2 separate regions of the Homo sapiens genome follow, and region 2 is linked to region 1. Evidence: promoter capture Hi-C in 16 types of primary human blood cells and fetal thymus (Javierre and others, 2016). All regions are on one chromosome and are shown on one strand. Each heading gives the region's core, a stretch centred on a gene start or on the middle of the fragment in contact. The rest is flanking DNA. Distances are from core to core; before and after follow the strand shown. Region 1 holds the start of ALG14 (ALG14 UDP-N-acetylglucosaminyltransferase subunit). Region 2 holds the start of RPL5 (ribosomal protein L5).

The links. Contacts are between HindIII fragments. The CHiCAGO score rates a contact against its expected background, and 5 or more counts as called.
Region 2: a contact is called between a fragment that was not itself captured here and the fragment with the promoter of ALG14 in region 1, in 2 of 17 cell types (total B cells and total CD8 T cells). The highest score is 5.5, in total B cells.

Annotation. Positions count from the first base shown.
Region 1 is chr1:95,069,758-95,075,934 of GRCh38, reverse strand. It overlaps ALG14 (ALG14 UDP-N-acetylglucosaminyltransferase subunit), which reads left to right and starts at 2,984. Exons shown (of 4, transcript NM_144988.4): 1 at 2,984-3,172. The coding sequence starts at 3,037. RefSeq lists enhancers at 2,863-3,222, 3,463-3,542. The HindIII fragment of the contact is 2,572 bases long and covers 2,646-5,217 here.
Region 2 is chr1:92,829,007-92,835,183 of GRCh38, reverse strand. RPL5 (ribosomal protein L5) reads right to left here and starts at 3,144. Exons shown (of 8, transcript NM_000969.5): 1 at 3,067-3,144; 2 at 1,726-1,795; 3 at 1,524-1,639; 4 at 271-405. The coding sequence starts at 3,069. It also overlaps a transcript of DIPK1A not described here. RefSeq lists enhancers at 2,066-2,703, 2,856-3,175, 2,704-3,342, 3,346-3,395. The HindIII fragment of the contact is 260 bases long and covers 2,340-2,599 here.

The DNA of each region.
Region 1 (6,177 bases), core at 1,735-4,234:
GGTACCCCACCCTCTTTGATTCTCTGCATTTCCTTGCAAGCCCCCAATGTTTGATTGCTTCCATTCATTCCAGCTACATGCCAAGTGTGGTCAAACTAATATTTCCTACAGATATAGGTAATTATAATAGTGAGGGGATGAAGTAATGGGAAATGCAAGGGTGTCCTCCAAGTATTAAATCTACCTTAATATAGAGCTTGGGGCCTGGAGCTAAGTAATTATCATATGCCTGACATTTTCATTGCATGTGTCAGTTTACAAAGCTGTTTCAGACACATCATCATCACAGCAATCTAGATGCTATTGTTTGCCTACCCAACAACCCTCCCTGCAGCTTCCTCCTCACTGAGAGAATGCCTATTTTGTTCAGTACCCACCCTCCATCCAACAGCCATGTATTACAGGTGAGTTGTAGATCATCCTCCTCCCACCTCCACCAGCTTTGAAGTCGCTTTCCTTTTATGCCTGGGAAAGTGATATAAGTATGGCCAAAAGGAGTGAAAGAAAGTCTGCTGTGAGGGGTTCTAGAATAAGTTTCCTTGCCTTTAAAAAAATAAAAAATAAAGCAGGCCGGGCGTCATGGCTCACCCGTATAATCCCAGCACTTTGGGAGGCTGAGGTGGGCGGATCATGAGGTCAGGTTCAAGACCAACCTGACCAACATGGTGAAACCCCGTCTCTACTAAAAATACAAAAATTAGCTGGGTGTGGTGGCGCATACCTGTAGTCCCAGTTACTTGGGAGGCTAAGCCAGGCGAATTGCTTGAATCCCAGAGGTGGAGGTTGCAGTGAGCCGAGACCGTGCCACAGAGCAAGACTGGGGGGGAGGGGCAAAAAAGACCCGACAAGATAACCTCTTTTTTGGCTATGGAGATTGCCCTGTTGGATGTAACCATCCACACATCCCATTCTGGGACCACTAGTGTCTTAAGTATCAGGTAAGACTGTTTCAGGTTGAAGACATTATTAGGAATGGCAGAGTGGGCATATACAAGTAAATGATACTCCTTGTATTATCCTTGAGCTGTTTTTCTTACTACACCAAAGACCCTACCTCTGGACTTCCAACTACGCATTTGTAAGCCCAGAGAATTCTGATTCCATTAAAATTTGAGAGACACTGACTTCTAAGTCCACAACTATGAACTTTCTCCACCCTTACTAGCTAAGTAGACTTAGGCAAATTATTTAACTTTTATGGAATCTACTTCTTTGTCTGTAAAAAGGGAACTAATATCCACTTTAAGGTCTTACTGCGAGAATGTATAGTTAAGAAGATTTGATGGAGCCGGGCGCAGTGGCTCATGCCTGTAATCCCAGCACTTTGGGAGGTAGAGGCGGGCAGATCACCTGAGGTTAGGAGTTCGAGACCAGCCTGGCCAACATGGTGAAACTCTGTCTCTACTAAAAAAAAAAAAAAAAAAAATAGCCAGGCATGGTGGTGCATGCCTGTAGTCCCAGCTACTTGGGAGGCTGAGGCAGGAGAATCGCTTGAACCTGGGAGGTGGGGGTTGCAGTGAGCCAAGATTGTGCCACTGCACTCCAGCCAAGCGACAGAGTGAGACTCTGTCTCAAAAAAAAAAAAAAAGAAAAGAAAAGAAAAGAAAGAAGATTTGATGGAAGACAATTTGGAAAGTGTTGTAAGGTCCACGGACTCTACTCACAAAGTCTCCCAAACTTGCTTGCTGATAGGAATGGACACGCTGGTTACATAAGCTAATCCCAGGTGCCCGATCCCCGGAAATTCTGATTCAGTGTTTCCTAATGGACCCTGGGAGTCTGCACCTTTAATAACACATTCTAGGCTCCAGGTAAGTGTGGTGATCAGGCAAGTTTGAATTTAGCAAAGGAATACAGGATGCAGTACTCCTGTCCAGCAGGACTCAGATTTCTGGTTTCTGATTCTAGATCTGACGCTATTCCACTTGGGCAAGCAGTTGCACCTTTCTGAACCTTTTTACTCATCTGTATACCTGTTCAATATAACCTACAGGTAGGTCTATGGTGGACCGAAGGCAAATTATATTTGGGGTGAAGGGGCTCCTGATCTTAGTATTTTATGTTGTCGTAATGTGGATTAATTAGACATAATTAATTTATTAACAATTAATTAATTAGACATAAGCAAAATTGAGATTGAAGGGGGTGTTGGCAGATCATCATTTTGGCTGAGGACATGAGAAACACACTGGAAATGCTTTGTGATAAAATTAACTGAATATTAATTGTAGGACTGTGCCTTGTCTATCCTGCTACCTAGAGCCACTGAGCTTTGCAATCCTCTTAGGAGTGTGGCTTACCTTTAGGTGGTCACCCTCAACTACTCTGGTCACACTGAGAGCTGTGAAAACCTCGAGAAAAGTTAAAAACATACATGTTGGGAGACAGGGGGTTTGGATGAGGGCCCTAAATTCGATGTTTAAGCCTAGGGTCCTTACTGGCGAACACTTTCAGTAATGTCTGTGTGCAACAGAAACATTTCTCTTGGCATTAAAAAAAAAAAAAGAAAGAAAGAAAGGATGTATTCCCTTAGCTTCAGGTGGCATTCACGAAGTTGACAGAGCCAGAACACCTCCTAACTGGGGAGTTTCGGGACCTTTAGGGCGCAGAGACTGCCTGACCTCGTCGTGGGCGTAAATCAAGCTTCCCCAGCGCTTAACTTTACAATTTTCAGCTTACGCTTGGCTGCAGCTGCGCACAATCCGCGCAGAAGCAGGGGTTCCGCTGACAAACGTGAACGTACAGAACGTAGAAACCTTTTAACGCTAATATGCAGTTTCCCTGTATGGCTGTTGTGCATTATTAATCTAGGTATTGCGTATTTAGTTTAGGAAACACGAATACTACATGATAAATGAGGTAAAATGGATTGTGACTGGGACCTCAGCTTCTCCGTCGCCTCCACTCCTCCCAGCTCAGGAAAGACCAGCCCACCAAGACGTGCGTCCTCCGCGTTTGAGTCGCTTCGGCACCCGTAGTTGTGAACTTTGACAGCGGCTGGTCCCCGGAAGTTGGACGCATGCGCCGTTTCTCTGCATGGTGTGCGTTCTCGTTCTAGCTGCGGCCGCAGGAGCTGTGGCGGTTTTCCTAATCCTGCGAATATGGGTAGTGCTTCGTTCCATGGACGTTACGCCCCGGGAGTCTCTCAGTATCTTGGTAGTGGCTGGGTCCGGTAAGTATCGAGGAGGCGACTGTCGGACTTGGGTTGGTCACTACAAACCCCAGAGTGCACCGCGACGCTCTTCCCTGGTACCCTTAGCACTTCTTGGAGTGTTGCATGCAGAGATTTGTAGTTTCTCTGCCTTGCCGGAACCGGGCAGTCCAGCCAGGGTAGGGGCTGGTTTGCTGACGCGGCCCAGAGGTTTTTTTTATGACAAGTAATTTACACTTGTCTATAATTAAGACTCTCTGTAGCGTATATTTTTCAAACAATTAGTGAACAGAGAACGTAGAAGCCTTTTGATGCAAACATGCAGTTTCCCCGTATGGCTGTTGTGCATTATTAATCTAGGTATTGCGTATTTAGTTTAGGAAACACGAATGCTACATGACAAATGAGGCAAAATGAATTGTCACATTTATAAATATACAAAGTCCAAGAGGATAAAAACAATGATCTACGGGCTGTAGAACAATACACACGCGGTGGCAGAGTGTGAGCAACACACTGACCTGTCAGGTAATACAATCTAAATCCACCAACTCTGTAGGTGCTTACAATTTTAAATACACATATTTGACAGGGACAGACAGACACACACAGACACAATGTAAACATTTGGGTATGGCAGGAGATTGCATCCAGATAGAACATGTATAGTATGAGTAAATGTACTAAGTTTATGTTCAAGTATAACGCATTACTTTATTCACTTAATCTGTTTTGAGCTGTTAGAAAGACCAAACACTAAACTAACCTCTGGAAATAACAAAACTGACTAACATTACTTGCCACGGAGTGCTGACTCCGTGCTAAGTCCTGTGAGAGATGCAAAGATACAGCAGTAAATGAAATAGAGAATACAAAAAAACTAACAGAAAATAAATCAAAATGAGTATTTGCCACAATGAGATAAATGCTATAATCTTGTAATAATTGTGTAAGAAGTACAAATTGCTATGGCAGTCTTCAGGAAGGGCACTACTTTATCAGGTCTTAAAAAACAGACAGCTTCCTGGAAGAAATGATGCTAAACTGAAACTTGAAAGATGACCCAGAATTAGTCAGATGAGGGACAGCCAGGGTTTCGAGGGCTGGGAGGATGTGAAAAGAAGGTGATAACACTTGGAATGACCAGAGTTGAGAGAACACTATCGTGTAGAGTTCAATGTAGGGAGGTAAACTGAGTCCAGATTGTAAAGAGTATTTAAAATCTTGCTTTTTTTCTTTTTTATACAGAGTCTCACGCTGTTGCCCAGGCTGGAGGGCAGTGGCGCAGTCTCAGCTCACTGCAACTCCACCTCCCAAATTCAAGCCATTCTCCTGCCTCAGCCTCCCGAGTAGCTGGGATTACAGGCGCACCACCACACTCAGCTAATTTTTGTATTTTTAGTACAGACAGTGTTTCACCATGTTGACCAAGGCTGGTCTTGAACTTCCGACCTCAAGTGATCCTCCTGCCTCAGCATCCCAAAGTGCTGGGGTTGCAGACGTGAGCCACCCCTGGCCTAAAATCCTGCTTTATAAAGCAATTGCTGCTACTCCACTGTTGATATCATGTAGGGGTTAAGACCACAGGCCTCTAGGTTGTCATAACACCACACATGAATCACATTTCTGCCACTTACTACCTTGGGGATCTCAGGCAATTAGTTAACCTCGCTGAACCTTCTGTTTCTACATGGGTTGAGAGAGGACAGGAGAGATTAAATAGGATCATATTTAAAGTGTTTAGGCCGGGCGTGATGGTTCACACCTGTAATCTCAGCAATTTGGGAGGCCGATACAGGCGGATTGCTTGAGCTTAGGAGTTGGAGACCAGCCTGGGCAACATAGTGAAACCCTGTCTCTACATTAAAATAAATAAATAAATTAGGTGGATGTGGTGGCATGCACCTATAGTCCCAGCTATTTGGGAGGCTGAGGTAGGAGGATCACTTGAGTCTGGGAGGTGGAGGTTGCAGTGAGCTGAGATTGTGCCACTGCACTCCAGCCTGGTTGACAGAGTGAGACCCTGTCTCAAAATGAAATAAAATAAAATGATATAATCAAAAGCTTAAATTAAAAAATAAAGTGTTCAGTAAAGTGCTTGACATATAGTGTCAACCTAAAATAATCAAAGGGCTCAATATCCAGTTAGAAGAGTTTATTCAAGCACAAAGCGTGAGATTGGGTGTCTGGGGAGCAAACCTATACCAAAGAATGTAATCAGTGCTCCCCATGTGGGGAAGAATGAAGGTAGTTTGTATACGCAAGAACAGAGATGCTGAACAAAATTACAATATTTTCCATACAAAGGCCAACATACAGATACAAGATTTGGTTGGCTACTGTAAGGGCCAAGGGGAAACTTCCCTTTTGCCCTCTGAAGTTTCACTGAAAATCACTGATGAGGCAGAAATAATAGGAGAAAAGGCATACAAATTTATGAAGCATATATGAAAGTGTTCTGAATGAAGACCCAGAGATACAAGGGAAATGGTCTGTTTTTATGCTTAGGTTCAGCAAAGTATGGACAGCCATGTAGAATTATGACTGGACAAAAGGGTATAATTTAATGCTAATAGACAGTAGGGAAGCCCAGCAAGGCCTGTCTAGATTTTTCTTGGTCTCTCTGAGCATGCATTCCTTTCCTTCTGGATGTGGGGTAGGGCCCTCTCTGGAATGGGGGTCTTATGACCTACCGTCAAACAAGGTAGATCAGATAATTTTTTTAATTTAATTAATTAATTTTAAAAATAGAGATGGTGTCTTGCTATGTGTGCCAGACTGGTCTTGAACTCCTGGCCTCAAGCAATTCTCCTGCCTTCCAAAGCGCTGGGATTAAAGGTGTGAGCCACCTCGCCCAGCTCCCCAGCTCGGATAATTTCTTTATGGCCAGTTTTTACACAGAAAGGTGGAGTAAAATTAGAGTAGTATTTTTAGGTTTTATGACCAGCTTTTGGGAGAAGGAGTTCTTGGTTTCTGTGACCCGCCCTGGGGAAGAGAGATTCTAGTTTCTATGGCAAGCCTCAGGG
Region 2 (6,177 bases), core at 1,220-3,719, 2.2 Mb after region 1:
TCAAATTCAAGTTTACATACTGCTGGAACTCAACAGCTGCAGGTCGCTAGTGGCAAAACCACTGGACAGCAAATTACAGATTTGTGTCATTGCAGAAAATTTTATTGGAAAGAGCTGACCTAGATAGATCCATTAACAAAGCAGAAAACTGGAAGCAAGCACTCTCCTGAAGCACAACTTAAGCTATCTTATCCATGTACAAACATCTTGCAGAAAACTCTCCAAGCAATCAGCCACAAACTACATCAATTAAAATCATCTTGTACATACCCTGCGGGCCAGCAGCAGGCCAGTACAATATGCTGCAGCATAATTTGTCAGGCCAACCTTCACACCATATTTTGGCAGTTCGTGTGCATACGCTGCGCAGACTATCATATCCCCCTCTATACGGGCATAAGCAATCTATAGTAAGAGAGAAACTAGGTTAGTAATCTGTTGCTTTCACTGTCTTACTACATCTTAATTATTTTTCAAGGGAATAAAAAAACATTGATGGACACAGATGAACATCACTTAAAATGCTTAAGACTCTTAGCTGGGTTACCAGTAAATTAGAGGTGCTTAAAAAGTCAAAGAGGAATACCCAAATATTTCAATCATCTTTTGAACTAAACATAACTAAAGTCAGCAAAGTCTCAGGAACCTAACGTTTAGTTATCTGAACTTGGGTACGGAGGAAGACAATGCCTTCACAATCAACAAACTATTTGCCCAGGAAACAGGTGTGCCTACCTGCTGCAAAATATCAATAAATCTTAACTCTCAGAATTTCTCCTAGTTGTAAAAGCCCAGGATTCTAGCTTTCAGAGTCCAGTGAGAATGCTCTTAGTACAAGAGCAAAACTGACACTTCCTAAAGGTCTTTCATGCGGGAGCCACCTTTGTACATTTTATTAAAACCTATTTCAAAGAATAAGCAGAACAATCTTAAAGCCCTGTTTAATTCACAACTACCTTTTCAGTGGTTAAGTGGCATATAAGGCCATATAGGAAAAATCAGGACAAACCCTATTCTTCTACTGGAATTGGGATGGGCAAGAACTTCTTACTTACTTCTAATCTCCCCACCCCACACACATAAACTAGGTTTCAGTGTCTTGCTCTGTCACCTAGGTTGGAGGGCTGGGTGTGATCTCACTTCACTGCAGCCTCAACCTCGGGGCTCAAACAATCCTCCCACTGAGTAGCTGGGACTACAGGTGCGCCCCGCCATGCCCAGCTAATTTTCTTACATTTTTTGTGAAGACAAACTCTCACTATATTGCCCAGGCTGGTCTCAAACTCCTGGGCTCAAGCAATCTTCCCGAAGTGCTGGGATTACAGGCATGAGCGCAACCAAGAGCATTTTTTAAAGTACCAAGTTCCCAGGTTCCAATTCTAGACCTACTAAAAGGAAAAATTATTCACTGGATGCTTTTGGAGGTGCTAGACAGCCCTTCTAACACACACACCATGTGCTTTGCTTCCCAAGCACAATTTCTCTAGCAATAAAAAAAGGGGACTGTCTAGAATACAACTTACCTGACAAATGATATCTCTGTTTGTCACACGAACTATCATCCTGTATTTGGGTGTGTTGTATTTATTTTTATCTTGTATCACCAAGCGTTTCCGAGCATAATAATCAGTTTTACCCTCTGAAAGAAAAAAATAATTGTAGAAAGGATACTCCACTGCATCTGCAAAGCAGATTAATATTGTAAACACAAAAAGGTGACAGTACCTCGTCGTCTTCTAAATTTCACTTGGTATCTCTTAAAGTAGGCCTTATTCTTAACAACTTTAACAAACCCCTTAAAGAAAAAAGAATGTTATTAAAACTTTGATGTCTTAGCCTATGATACTTTTGACATAAATTAACCATGTAACAAAGTAACACTTGAACTTCAAGAGTAAACAGACAACTGTCACTTGTAGAATCCCAGGTTTCACAAGCAACTAGGGTCAAGAATCTTTTTCCTCTACCTTCCATGTCACAGACTAGTAGTTTCATAAAACAATAAAAATGAATCCTTAGAGAAATATGGAATAAAAGAAACATACAAAATGCAGGCCCCAATTTATTACATTTAACAGGTATAAAATTATTGTTATATTGCTTTCAAAAGGTTTTAAACGCTTTCAATTTCCATATTTGTTTCTTCAAGGACCAGCACCGGTAATTGTGCCAAACTTTTGCGAAGCACTGCTCCAGACAGCAATCAGTGATGCCAAACGTCGGTTTGTTCGGAACACGCTATGTCCCACTTCGAAAACCTAGCCTCAAATAACAACTACGTACCTCTCTCGCTTCCCATGTTATGTTTTTCAAAAGCCTAAATTACCTGCCACAAAGCTTAACTGGGCAAGAGCACATTCAGCAGTAATTCCCCCACTAAAACAGCACTGTTCCCCATCAGCTAAAGCAACATTTCATCCCACCCTTGGGGCCCTACCCCAATAATTAAAAACTCATCCGGCGACGGACTCTAGAGGAAGAGGCAGGAGGCACGTATTCCATGTTAAAGGAGCTTCCGGGGCCCAGGGACCCCTCGGCCTCCAAGCTCCACTGACAATTTTGGCTTAAAAGCCACTTGCTCAGCCCACGGGCACAAGCTTCCTAAATCTAAGACTTGCCGGCTCCGACATTCTCCTGGAAAACCCACGAAGTACTCGGTACTCGGAGGTCGAGTGGGACCCGAGGACCTGCAGCCCCCCTCCATTCTGGCGTTCCCCAGCTAGGCTGAGGTCGACTGCTTGCGACCTCTCACGCCCGGCCGCTTGCCAGCGCCCCCTCACACTAGACGGCAGTATCCGCACTCAGGCTGTCTACTAAACTCACCCTTCTCCCCAATCCGCCGTCCAAGCTCACGCAACCCTTCTTCGCCAACCCCTCCCCCCAAGTTCGCGCACCGGGCGGCAGCCATTTAAGGCCACGCTGGGAACTGCACCTCGACCAAGTCAGAGCTAGCAATCTAACGCCATCCGGCCCCTGCGACGCGCGAGACGGGCCCTAGGCTGGCATACGGGCAAGAAAAGGGAACCTCCATGCATCTAAAGCCCCGAGACCGAGGCATCCACTCACCATCCTGCGGAACAGAGACCGGCGTCCGCTGCTCGACAGAGACCTGCAGGCCCAGCGGCGCTAGGGGGTGGGAAAAGGGCCACAGCCCTTGCGCAGGCGCAGTATGTAGCGCGGACGGTCACGCCAGTGACGTGTGAAAGAGAGAGGGCGTCGGCCACAAGGCGTTTTACGTTCCGCCCCCTGCTGGAAGGAGGGTGAATGCCTGCCCAAGCTCTCCAGGTTCCAATGCTCGGGGTATCTCACAGGATCCGTGCGGTGAGGAGGAGCAGGGAGGATTACTGGAGCCTTTCGCTTTCTTTGCTACAGCGTTTTGTTTTGTTTTGTTTTGTTTTGTTTTGTTTTGTTTTGTTTTGTTTTGTTCATAACGCATTTTGCTTTTCTAAGCAGGAAAAAAAAAAAAAATTAAATAGGACAAGTTTGCTTGGGAGCCCTCTTGCCTTCTCTGGGCTACTCATTCTGGTCCAAGAGCATATGGACCCACCCTCCCATCTCACCCCCAGGAAGCCTTCCCTGAGAGCCCCAAGCCTGGGATAGGGGCCACTCCTCTGCCTTCCTACAGCAGCTTTCTACTGGCTTCAGCCCACCACAGACTGTCAACTTTTCGAGGTGGGCCCTGATGTCCACCTCTGACTCTCCAGCACCTAGCAGGGTATCAGCTGCTCACCGTTAGAGCTGGGAGAAGGGACGGCCAACCAGGATGACAGGGTTAAGTGACTCCAAAACACTGCCACTAGAATAAATCAGGATTAGGATGCCAATTACTTCTGATTCCAACTTGTAATTCCTTATATAATAGGAAAAATAAACAGAGTTCGCTATGGCCGATGTCAACAGAGCTCTAGAGGAGAAAACTTAAAACACTTTTCACAGGAAGTGTGATTCTACTTTTGTGGAGCCACCTTTGAAAGGGTAAAGAAAGAGGTATTCAATTCGTATTTATAGAAAATATTTAAAAACCTTCATTTTGGTGGATTATCAAGTTATTAGCCTACCAAAGGTGCTCCATGTCTTGGTCAGGCCCTGCTTACACTGGAGGCAAAAGCATCAGGAAGGAAAGTCTGCCTGGAAACAGGCCGACTCCTAACTTCTGCATGTTTTAGGGCAAGGGTTCATAGGAAGACCCACATACTATTCATCTGAATATTTAGAAGTTGTGGGCCGGGCACGGTAGCTCAGGCCAGGTGCGGTGGGTCACGCCTGTAATCCCAGCGCTTTGGGAGGCCGAGGCAGGCGGATCGCGAGGTCAAGAGATCGAGACCATCCTGGACAACATGGTGAAACCCCATCTCTGCTAAAAATACAAAAACCAGCCGGGCATGGTGGCACGCACCTGTAGTCCCAGCTACTCGGGAGACTGAGACAGGAGAATCGCTTGAACCCAGGAGGCAGAGGTTGCAGTGAGCCGAGATCACACCACTGCACTCCAGCCTGGCGACAGTGAGACTCCGTCTCAAAAAAAAAAAAAAAGAAAGAAGTCATGAAGCAGGCTGGATGTGCTGGCTCAGGCCTGTAATCCCAGCATTTTGGGAGGCCAAGGCAGGAGGATCACTTAAACCCAGGAGTTCGGGACCAGCCTGGGAGACTTGGTGAGCCCCTGTCTCTATAAAAAATAAAATCCAAAAAAAGAAGTTATGAAACAAACAACATGTTAAATTAAATATACTTTATCATCCTTATCCCTCTCCTTCTTACCTTATAAATCCATAACAAGAAAATTAAAAATATGTATACCTATTCCCCTTGGTCACAGTCAGGGGTCTGTGGCTAGCATGGCTGGTTCAGCCAGTGCAGTTGGTGACACCAGGAGCTAGGGGGTAATTGTCCAGCATCCTCAGCCAACAGCATCTTATTCAAGTGGTAAAAGTTAAAAAACCACCAATAGTGGGATGAATTAACATTATAGGTTCACACCTGTAATCCCAACATTTTGGGAGGCTGAGCCAGGAGGATCACTTCAGCCCAGGAGTTCGAGACCAGCCTGGGCACATAAGAAGACCTCTATCTCTAGGGAAAAAGAAAAAGGAAAGCAAAGAAAAAATAAATTAACATTATATGCCTCCTGATGCACTGAGAAGAACACAAAACACTTCCTACCAAATTTACATAATCTAATCTAAAATAGTTATCTAATATGTACCAACCAAATCTAATCATGATGAAACTACACGTAAATCCAGATTTAGATAATTCTACAAAGTAACTGGCCTGTACTCTTCAAAAATGACAAGATCATGAAAGATAAGGAAAGCCTAAACAATATTCCAGACTGAAAGAGACCAAAGTGACATGACAACTGTATGCAATGTGTGATTCCATATTGCATCCTGGACAAGAAAGGAAAAAGGGAAATAAGAAGTCTTTGTATTTCTTTTGTTCAAAGGACATTGTCAGAACAATCGGTGAAACTTTACTGAAGTCTGGATTAGGTGATAGTAATGAATCAATGTTAAATTCTGATTTTTTTTTGAGATGGAGTTTCGCTCTTGTTGCTGAGGCTGGAGTGCAATGGCGCAATCTCGGCTCACCACAACCTCTGCCTCCTGGGTTCAAGCGATTCTCCTGCCTCAGCCTCCCGAGTAGCTAGGATTACAGGCATGTGCCACTATGCCCGGCTAATTTTGTATTTTTAGTAGAGACGGGGTTTCTCCATATTGATCAGGCTGGTCTCGAACTCCTGACCTCAGATGATCCACCCCCCACCTTGGCCTCCCAAAGTGCTGGGATTACAGGTGTGAGCCACCAAGCCTGGCTAAATTCTGATTTTCATAGGTAGACTGGTTATGAATGAGAGTTCTTTTTTTTTTTTAAGGTAATACACACTGAACTATTTTGGAGTAGTGGGCATTATTTCTGCAACTTGGTCCCAGTAAATGGCTTAGGAAGAAAATTACATGTGTGTATATACATACACATATATGTGCATGTAAAGAGAGAGATTAATAAGGCAAAAATGTGTTAAAATGGTGACAGTGGGGAACTTGGGAGAAGAGTATATGGAAATTCTTTGTACGGTTCTTAACCCAAGCAGTGGTTTTGAAATTATTTCAAAATAAAAAACAAAACATTGGCTGGGTGTCATGGCTCACCCCTGTAATCCCAGGACTTTGGGAA